2 separate regions of the Homo sapiens genome follow, and region 2 is linked to region 1. Evidence: promoter capture Hi-C in human tissues and cell types (Jung and others, 2019). All regions are on one chromosome and are shown on one strand. Each heading gives the region's core, a stretch centred on a gene start or on the middle of the fragment in contact. The rest is flanking DNA. Distances are from core to core; before and after follow the strand shown. Region 1 holds the start of TCTN1 (tectonic family member 1). Region 2 overlaps PPTC7 (protein phosphatase targeting COQ7).

Region 1 (5,305 bases), core at 1,691-4,190:
TGTAAGACTACTAAGGACGAAGCAATAGTGTTTAATAACTCCACTTAGGAAAAAGGTTTCTACCCAGGATGCGAGTGTACTTAATCATCCACCAAGTAGCTGTTGAGCCCCTGTCAGGTCTAAGCAGCACTCAGCTGCCCTTGCCTCCTATCGCATCTGCACACCTGGCTTGTAGAGCAGGGTACTAATGAACAGAGCCCAGATTCAAGATGAAGGGTTATCACTCTTCTCCACCAACACTGCCTGAAGCCACCTGCAATTTTCCATCCAGTTCTCCACTCACAGTCAGCCTCCTGCTCCGATATCTACAAGTTGCGTGTCCTAAAATTAGGCAAATAATTTATCCACCTGAAAAATGGGGATAACAGTACCCTCATCATGGGGTTGTTGTAAGGATTAAATGAGATACATCATAGGTGAAATGCTTAGCACAGTGCCTGCCACACAGTGAACAGTTAACAAATGAGTTATTACTGTCACAAGTCTAAAGAGAGGTCCTTTAAAAAGGTGAAGACAGGTGACTGGCAGAGTGCAGTGGCTCAAGCCTGTAATCCTAACACTATGGGAGGCCTAGGTGGGCAATCACTTGAGGCCAGGAGTTCAAGACCAGCCTGGGCAACATGGTGAAACCCCGTCCCTACAAAAAATTAGCCGGGCGTGGTGGCATGCAGCACCTGTAGTTCCAGCTACCCGGGAGTCTGAGGTGGGAAGATCACCTGAGCCTAGGAGGTCGAGGCTGCAGTGAGCTGTGATCATGCCACTATACTCCAGCCTGAGTGACAGAGTGAGACCCTGTGACCAAAAAAAAAAAAAATAAAGTGTGAGGACAAGCACAAATTCATCCCCTATACTGGAAAAACAGCCTTGAACACATGCTATAATAATGATGTTTCAAGCATAGCTTTATTTTGGAGAGAAAATGCATTAACAGATGGAGTACTTACATGAATAAAAGACAATCCAGTCCAAAAACTTTAGAGTTTCAGGCATTGAATACTTGGCTTTCTTCTGTCCCAGTTTATCACTGATTTAACTTCCCTACTAATTCATCAAATCAACAATTTAAATATAAAACAGAGCTCTGTTTATATATTAAAATAGCAAATATATTTCTCTGTACTTTTTCTTTCAGATTACTCGTAATTCAGAAAGGAGAGCTTTTGGAGAAATAAAGGTTCAGTAACCGCAGTTAAGTCCTAGAGTTCAAGATCTCAGCTGATGACTTTTTTACTTACTAATACTGAGCCTTAATCAATTTGAGAAAAGATCTTCTTAAGAAGGGATAGGCTGGGCACAGTTGTTTACACCTGTAATCCCAGCACTTTGGAAGGCCAAGGTGGGAGGATCACTTGAGCCCAGGAGTTTGAGATCAGCCTGAACAACATAGCGAGATCTCATCTCTACTAAAAATAAAAAAATAAAAAAAGCAAGCTGGGGGAGCACGCCTGTGGTTCCAGCTACTCTGGAGGCTGAGGCAGAAGGATCCCTTGAGCCCAGCAGATTGAGACTTAAGTGAGATATAATCACGCCACTGCACTCCAGCCTGGGTAACAGAGCGAGACCTTGTCTCAAAAACAAAAAAAGAATAAAAAAAGATTAAAAGTACTGCATATCTATTGGGGTTACTCTCAATTCACACAATCGGAAAATTTTAAAAACTTTTTTTGAGATCATGAACCACTTTAAGAATCGGCTGCTATGAACTCTCATCTCAGGAAAAGGCATATTCACAAAGTTTTGCACTCAATCTTAGCGGGTCACAGTCATTCAGTGAAGTCATCCATGTCAATTTTTTTTTTTGAGACAGTCTTGCTCTGTCGCCCAGTCTGGAGTGCAGTGGTAATTACTGCAACCTCTGCCTCCTGGGTTCAAGCGAGTCTCCTGCCTCAGCCTCCCGAGTAGCTAGGATTACACCATGCCCGGCTATTTTTTCTATTTTTAGTAGAGACTGGGTTTCGCCATTTTGACCAGACTGATCTTGAACTCCTACCTCAAGCAATCCACCCGAGTTGACCTCCCAAAGTGCTGGGATTACAGGCGTGAGCCACGGCGCCAGCCAAACGTCAAATTAGATTATAAAATATTTCCACTAAATGTGTAATTCTAGAATTAATCATTTTCTGAAAAAAATGTTAATTATCCCTACATATGACTCCTAAGAAGTGAGCATAACCCCTCCCTCAATAGCTTTCCACCTCCAATTCAACACAGGAGGAATCCTGGGTTTTTAGAATTCAGGTCAACAGAGAAGGGTCTTAACATAGTCACATTTAGTAAGATAGACCTTTGGCCTCTCTTTAAGTGAAAGTTCAGTGCAGCCAAGGCACTAATTTCCACCATTGTCTCGACTTAATTTCGTCTTGGGCTGCAAGAATTCATTATTGCTCTTTGCATCACTGTTGTCTGGGACCACTTCAAGTATTTTCAAAGGTTTGATACCGTTCCACTTAAACTCTGAGACCCGGTTTTCTCATTTACCTGACAGTGATAGTAACAGCTACTTCTCAGGGTTATTGTTTAGAGAATGGACGTTTATGGAACACTCAGCAGTGTCTGCACACAGTAAGTGCTCAATAAGAGTTAGCTATCATTATTACGTCCTCACCGGGGCTGTCCCCTTGAGGTTGGATCACTGTGGACTCCAGGAGCTGGCACATGGTACCCACCGTCCGTGACTGGGGTAGGCCTGGGGCCGGAGGAGGGCCCTGGAGCCCTGGGAGTCCCGGGGGGCCTGGTCGACGGGAAAGTTCCGAAGGTGGCCAGGGCTGCCTCGGTGGAGTTGAGGCCCTCTGTCGTCACCGCCGGGGTGGCATCGGTCTGGGCGCTCACGGAGGCCCAGCAGCCCAGGAGCACCACCAGGAGCGGCGGGAGACCTCGCGGCCTCATCTCCCAGGGAGTCCCAGCGAGGCCCGCGACATGGACAGCGCGTTGCCCGGCAACCGCGACAGCCAGGCGCGGGGCATCACGGGAAGGGGCTTGCGAAGCCGCGAGAAGCTGCCGGAGACTGACTGGGGCGAAGCCTGGATGAGGCAGGGGGCGGATCCCGGATGAGGCCGGAGGGCGGCGCCTGGGTGAGGCAGCGATGGCAGGCACAGGGGCGAGCACTAGTGAGCGGGTGTGAAGCTGGCGTAAACGAGGGGCGTGTAAATCCCGGCTGTGGTTTCCAACCGGTCCGCGGCGCTTGCTTAAAAAATGCAGATTTTCTGTAGTTCCAGCTACTCGGGAGGCTGAGGCAGAAGAATCGCTTGAACCCGGGAGGTGAAGGCTACAGAGAGCCGTGAGCGTGCCACTGCACTCCAGCCTGGGCGACAGTGTGACACTCTGTCTCAACCAAAAAAAAAAAAAAAAAAAAAAAAGACGGATTTCCAGGTACCACCTCAGGAGATCCTGAGTCAGTTAGTCTAGGGCAGGACCCAGGAATCAGTTTTTGGGGGATTTTTTTTGAGACAGGGTCTCACTCTGTCGCCCAGGCTGGAGTGCAGTAGCGCGATCTCGGCTCACTGCAGCCTCGACCTCTGGGACTCAAGCAATCCTCCCACTTCAGCCTCCTGAGTAGCTGGGAACTCAGGCGCGCGCCACCATACCCAGCTAATTTTTGTATTTTTTTTTTTTTTTTTTTTTTTTTGTAAAGACGAGGTCTCCCTCCGTCGCCCGGACTGGTATCGAACTCCTGGTTCAAGTGATCCACCTGCTCCAGCCTCCTGAGTCCTGAGTAGTTGGGATTACAGGCGTGAGCCACCACTCCCAGCCAGGAATAAATATTTTTAACAAATGTCCGGACGCAAGCAGATGAGTTGGACGGAAATTTAGGAAGCGCCGTCCCAACGCCACTAACGTGGGTGTTTGGAAGGAGCACAGGGATCTGTGAGATCACTGTCTCTGAATTTTCTCTATCCCAGACTCTGTCAACACTGGCTTCACCTTTTTATTTTAGCTGCATCTCACAAGGTTGCCAGATAACTTCTGTCTGCTGTATTGTGATAAAGGGGACAAATGAACACTTAATACCTTTTATTATTTTTTGTAGAGAGGGGGTCTCACTATGTTGATCAGGCTAGTCACAAACTCCTGGCCTCAAGTGATCCTCCCGCCTCAGCCTCCCAAAGAGCTAGGATTACAGGCATGAGCCACCACGCCAGGCCTAAGAACCTATTTAAAGACAAAAATCTTTTACAAAAATTAAGTAAAATAATTTAGACATCTTAAAGGGGAAAACAAAGCAAATCCACTGTAATGCTACAAAACGACCTGGAGACCCTACGATTTAGGAAACCCTCTCCATTCTGAATGGGCTTATTTAGGAGGTACCCAAGCCCAAGAATGTTGGCTGCACCTTTGACACTTAATCTCCATACAGTTCAGAAGTAGATGTCGAAGTACTTAGACGTGGCCAGGCACAGTGGCTCACACCTGTACTCCCAGCCCTTTGGGAGGATCGCTTGAGTCCAGGAGTTGAGACCAGCCTGGGCAACATGGTGAAACCACATCTCTACAAAAAATACAAAAATTAGCCAGGTATGGTGGCACATTCCTGTAGTCCCAGCTACTCAGGAGGCTGAGGTGGAAGGATCGCCTCAGTCTGGAGAGCTTGAGGCTGCAGTAAGCCATGATAGTGCCACTGCACTCCAAAACAAAAAAACCTTAAACATAACACAGTATTTATTCAAGAAATGTATATACCAATTCAAAAGGATGTCAAACAGTATATATATCTAGTTTATTAAATGTATTTAGCAAAACTAAATCATCAAAGTGATATCTTTAGCACCTTCCTGTGGCATTCCAGAGACAGTGTATAAAAATATAATTGAATCACTCAAATGTGTAAGACAGATACTTCTTTTTTTCTGCAAAGGATTGCTTTAGCATCTGACTGAAATTCTGGACTGCTTTTAATAACTGATTAAATGCTTCCCCTTTTAAAAAAAATAACCAAAAGTAGGCCGGGCATGGTGGCTCACGCCTGTAATCCCAGCACTTTGGGAGGCTGAGGCGGGTGGATCACGAGGTCAAGAGATCAAGACCACCCTGGCCAACATGGTGAAACCCCGTCTTTACTAAAAATACAAAAATTAGCTGAGCATGGTGGTGGGCACCTGTAGTCCCAGCTACTCAGGAGGCTGAGGCGGGATAACTGCTTGAACCTGGGAGGCAGAGGTTGCAGTGAGTCGAGATCACACCGCTGCACTCCAGCCTGGTGACACAGCGAGACTCCGTCTCAAAAAAAAAAAAAAAGTATATTTTCCAAACCTTCATCTCATAACTTCTAAAACCAGGGCCTGTTTGTTTTCCTTTTTAAACCTCT
Region 2 (5,305 bases), core at 1,803-4,302, 38 kb after region 1:
TGTATGTAGCACTAAACCAGTGGTTTTTAGCTTTCCTTGATTCACAACCCCTGAGGATCAGGACCCTGTGCACAGAGATAAAATTTTGCATGGGCTCTTAGGAACTTTGCTGACTCCATGACTCCTCTGATACCACCTGGAGGTCCATGCATAGGAATCAGATCAAGAACCCCAGCTCTGTACCCTTGAAGGGAATGCCAGCAGACACAGTCAGATACTGGTAGCTGATGTGACCAAAAGGTGGTTGTTAGCCATGTTTGACAAAGATCAAGCATGCACATATGCAAATGGTGGGGGATAGGGGCAGTGAAGGACAGGTTCTCCAGGACTGTCCTGTTGTGGAGGAGCTCTTCCGGACGGCAGTCTTGGAAGCCACCTGAAATAACTTCATGAGTTGGCCTCATTTGATCCTTGGCTGTCCTGAACCAGTTCATATGATGGTGACTTCTATTTAGTTGATACCGTAAAAGGTGATGACTTTTTTTTTTTTTTGAGATAGAGTCTTGCTCTGCCACCCAGGCTGGAGTGCAGTGGCACGATTTTGGCTCGCTGCAACCTCTGCCTCCCAGCTTCAAGCGATTCTTGTGCCTCAGCCTTCCGAGTAGCTGGGACTACAGGCATGTGCCACCTCACCCGGCTAATTGTTTGTATTTTTTTAGTAGAGATGAGGTTTCGCCACGTTGCCTAGGCTGGTGTCGAACTCCTGACCTCATGTCATCCACCTGCCTCAGCCTCCCAAAGTGCTAGGATTACAGGTGTGAGCCACAGTGTCTGGCTAAGGTGATGACTTTGAATGACTCTTTAATACTGCTGTCAACTCTAGAGGTTGGAGTTACAACCTGAATTACATTAAAAGGCTATGTTGAGTAATAACGTTACGTTGAACTTAAGTGCTTTTGAACCTTTTGGTTCTGTAGATAATTAATTTTCTTTGAATTGACACCATATTTATTACTGAGTATCCGTGTAACAGATTATTCACTGTGGTCATCTAGGACTCCTTGACTGGAATGAAAGCTGTTTCTTTCTTTTTATATGAGAAAGAGAAATCTCTTTTGTTTCTTTAATTTAAAATTGATCTGTCCTATTAGTCATGCAGTGACTAATAGTGCTTGGTGCTTCACAACATTTTGTATAGTCCCCACTGTATTTCGTTTCGGAAAAACTGACTATGTTGGGTGTGGTGAGACATAGGAACCACTCCTATCATTCTCTAGAAAATTGTCAAAGGTGCTTTCTCTTTACTAGGTCCAACAGGAGTAAACCAGTACTAGCGGGAGCCGTGTACACTTTTCTTGTTCCTTCTTCCCTGTGGCTAATTCTGAGTTCTCTTATTACTCTACGTGGCATGGCTTCCTAGGTGCACAAAAATATGAGAACTGCATGTTGTAATACCTGGGCTTCCCACAGCCTTATGCTACTTAACAATAGAATCAAAGACTGTTGAGAATTGTAACACTTAGAAACCTTGGAGTCTAGTTTTTTTCACCTCACTGATGAGAAAACAGGCCTCCAGAGAGTCAGATGACTTCCCCAAGGTTACTCTACTAGTTATTGGTGGAACTGAGGCTGACACCTATCTCAGTCTCTCATCTGAGACTCCCTTTCCCAGTCCTGTCCCCGTTAGACCACTGGTCAAGTTTTCTTGATGATATATGTGAATTAAAAACCAGTCAGTCTCCTGATACTTTTGTGCTTCGAATGCTTTTCCTGGGTGTGTGTGTGTGTGTGTTTATAACTTCTTTATTCACTCTGACTCATAACTGATGTGCAACAAAAACTCCTCTGCATGCTAAACCACAGTTTAGAGAAACCACTTATTTTAAAAATGGCAGCCTGGTCTGTGCCATATAAATTTTGACCTCTGAATATTGAGTTGTAAAGTATTTATTATGAAACTGTGGGATGTTTATTTAAGCTTAAACTTGAAACCTAAAAGTGAAATTAAAATAATTTCATATCCCAGCCTTTGGATCTGATTTTGATCGTGGTCAGGATTTTGAAGTGTTTTTGTGAGTAATGTCAGTCTTAAAAGTAGTTGTCTTGAGGTGTAAAGATCATATGAACAAAATTAAGATCTAAATTATATTTAGGAAGTGAATGGATGAGGTAGAATTTGGTGTTTTCAAACAGTCATGATCATTTTAATGTACTTATAGAACCTCTATTCTGAAAGTGAGTTGTCCTTTTAAAAAAGTAGTCACCTTCAGAGTGTGTGTGTGCACCCACTGACTTCAGTCTTTCAAGAAGTCCTTGTTGGAATTTTCCTCAGCTAGATTTCAAGCCATGTCAGGACACCACTCTCATTATATTACCATAATTTTTTTTTCTTTTTTTTTTTAATTTTACTTTTTTTAAATTCCAGGATACATGTGCAGGACATGCCATAATTTTCTTAAAGTCAGATTCCAGCATCATCTACCTGTTGATAGCAAATATGACCCTGAGTGAATTTTTTTTTTTTTTTTTTTTTTGAGACAGAGTCTCGCCCTTGTGCCCAGGCTGGAGAGCAGTGGCGCGATCTTGGCTCACTGCAACCTCTGCCTCCTGGGTTCAAACAGTTCTTCTGCCTCAGCCTCCCAAGTAGCTGGGATTACAGGCACCCACCATTACACCTGGCCAATTTTTATATTTTTAGTAGAGACGGGGTTTCACCATGTTGGCCAGGCTAGTCTCGAACTCCTGACCTCAGGTGATCCACCTGCCTTGGCCTCCCAAAGTGCTGGGATTACAGGCGTGAACCACGTGCCCAGCCCCTTGAGTGAATTTTTAAAAACTGATATGTATAATTCACATTCCATAGCATGTATCCTTTTAAAGTGTACAGTTCAGTAGTTTTTACATTCACAAAGTTGTACAGCCACTGCCACTATCTAGTTCCAGAATGTTTTTCATCACCCCCCAAGAAACCCCCTATCCATTAGCAGTCACTCCCCATCTCCCTGGCAACAGAAAGCAGATTCTGTCTGTGGATTTGTGTTTGAGACATTTCATACAAATGGATCGTGTAATATGTGGCCTTTTCCTTAGCATGTTTTCCCTTAGCATGTTTTCAGAGTTCATCCATGTTGGAGCATGTGTCAGTACTTCCTCCCTTTTTATGACTGAATAATGTTCCATTATATTTATATACCACATTTTGTTGATCCATTCATCTGTTGATGGCCATCGAGTTGTTTCTACTTTTGGCTATTGTGAATAGTGCTGTGCACATTTGTGTGCAAGCTTTTGTATGGACATGTTTTTAATTTGAGGGGATATATACCTAGGAGTAGAATTGCTGGGTCATATTGTAACCCTGTTTAACTTTGTGAGGAATATAGCTGTTTTTTTATGTAGCTATATAATATTAATATACATATAATTATTTTATATAAGGGAAAATACTTTAAAAATTGCAGCAATCAAATATATAAATTCTGAGATCAATCAGTACTTTAAATATGCCTGATTTCATAATGAGCTGTGTGCTTCCAAGAGAAAATTGTGGAATATTAATAAGGAAGTGTGAGTGGATTTAGTAAAAGAGCCATCTAGGACTAATGAAATAGCAGGGTTTAGGAAGCCATTGACTAGTGGCTTTCTGACTATTCTGAGTGGTCTTTCATTCTGTAATACATAAGATTACAGGGTTGATGGATAGAGGAGGTTTGCTGTTTGCTTTTTAAACTTCTGTTCCTTGGTATTTTTCTCATTTTGCTATATAGGTGTGTTGCAGTTTTATAAGTTACTTATTAAGGTACCTTTATTTTTGAAGTCATTTCTTCATTTGTTATAGCTTCAGAGCTACTTTTCCTTTGTTCACAAATCTTTTGAGATTTTCTAGCTTAGTTTAAAATTTTCCTAACTTACAGTTTATCTCTTGATTTGTTAACAGTCTCTGTAAAGGATTCTGGTTGAATCCTTTTGTAGTGCAAGTAATTGAATTTTAGAAGCATAACTGTTTATTAAGGAGGTTTTAAATTGTAGCAGAAGGTAGATTACAGATGCAAGCTGTTGTGGAGCTTTTTTTTTTTTTTTTTTTTTTTTTTTTGAGGTGGGGTTGCTGCATGGGAGGAGGCTGTACCCTGAACTTTAGCACTGGTTTGTGAAACTGGGCAATACATAACCTGAATTGTTGCAACAGTATCCAAATGGAGTTTGTACTAGTGTGTGACACCAGAAGCACTACACCGGGTTAGAATGTGACCTACAACCATGTCCTTTGAGTAGCTCAAATGCTAAAGTTAAGTTCAAGCTAAATGTCAAATTCATTTTATGTTCCCATGCCTTTTAGAGAGAGGTCTTGCCTGGGGCTTTAGGTTCAGAAGTTTTAGGAAAATGCTTTGCAAAAGTAAGTTAGCAGTATTTTATTTCTAAAGAAATTTGACTTTTCAAACTGGAAGTTTTAGTTTATGAAAAATAATGTGAGTTTGCCTTTCAAAATTAGTTGTTAACTTTTGATCTCTTTTTAAGAAGTGATGTCCTGGATCCTAATTTTTGTTGTTAGTAATAAAATTTATGAGTCTGTCTTGTTTGGGAGTCGTCATATATTTTAAAAACCTGATAGGGGCCGGGCACGGTGGGTCACAACCTATAATCCCAGAACTTTGGGAGGCCAAGGCGGGTGGATCATTTGAGGTCAGAAGTTCAAGACCAGCCTGGCCAATATGACGAAACCCCATCTCCACTAAAAGTTTAAAAAAAAAAAAAAAAAAAGCCGGGCATGGTGGCGAGTGCCTGTAATCCTAGCTACTAGGGAGGCTGAGACATGAGAATCGCTTGAACCTGGGAAGCAGAGGTTGCAGTGACCCGAGATCGTGCCACTGCACTCCAGCCTGGATGATAGAGCCAGTCTCTGTCTCAAAATAATAATAATAATAATCTGATAGGGAGTTTTCTGTCTCCCTGAGAACTAAAATAATTTGTTTCCTAACAGTTCACAAAATTGCATATCATAAATCAAGACTTTTTGTAAAAGCTGACCTATTGCAGAGGGCATTAGGCTAACACACGACTTATTATTCATTTCAACTTGAGTTGACAACTGGCACAGCTCTTTCAATTTAGTTTAAAGTTTTTAAAGAAGAAAAGAGATGCTAAATGTTTTTGAATAAAATCTCTAACAGGAAAAATCCCCAACAGGATTGGGGGTTGAGGATTGGGCAATGGGGAAGGACAGAAGCTTTTCTTTAAGGAGTAAAAATGCTTCATTCTTTTTTTTTTCTAAGCCAGTTGTTTCATATCTGACACAAAACATGATTCTCCCATCCTTCTAGTGCTTTATATAGTGCCTTAGAAGTTGCAAAGCATTTTTATGTTTTAC

What was found. Contacts are between HindIII fragments. The study calls those that stand out against the background at their distance.
Region 2: a contact is called between a fragment that was not itself captured here and the fragment with the promoter of TCTN1 in region 1, in 1 of the 25 tissues and cell types used here (H1 embryonic stem cells).

The regions. Positions count from the first base shown.
Region 1 is chr12:110,611,764-110,617,068 of GRCh38, reverse strand. TCTN1 (tectonic family member 1) reads right to left here and starts at 2,940. Exons shown (of 15, transcript NM_001082538.3): 1 at 2,667-2,940. The coding sequence starts at 2,886. RefSeq lists an enhancer at 2,614-2,663. The HindIII fragment of the contact is 11,470 bases long and covers 1-5,305 here.
Region 2 is chr12:110,574,336-110,579,640 of GRCh38, reverse strand. The region is part of intron 1 of PPTC7 (protein phosphatase targeting COQ7); the gene reads left to right. Among named protein-coding and RNA genes, the nearest start is that of PPTC7, 6.3 kb to the left of the region's middle. RefSeq lists a cis regulatory region at 4,069-4,082 and an enhancer at 4,004-4,148. The HindIII fragment of the contact is 5,210 bases long and covers 448-5,305 here.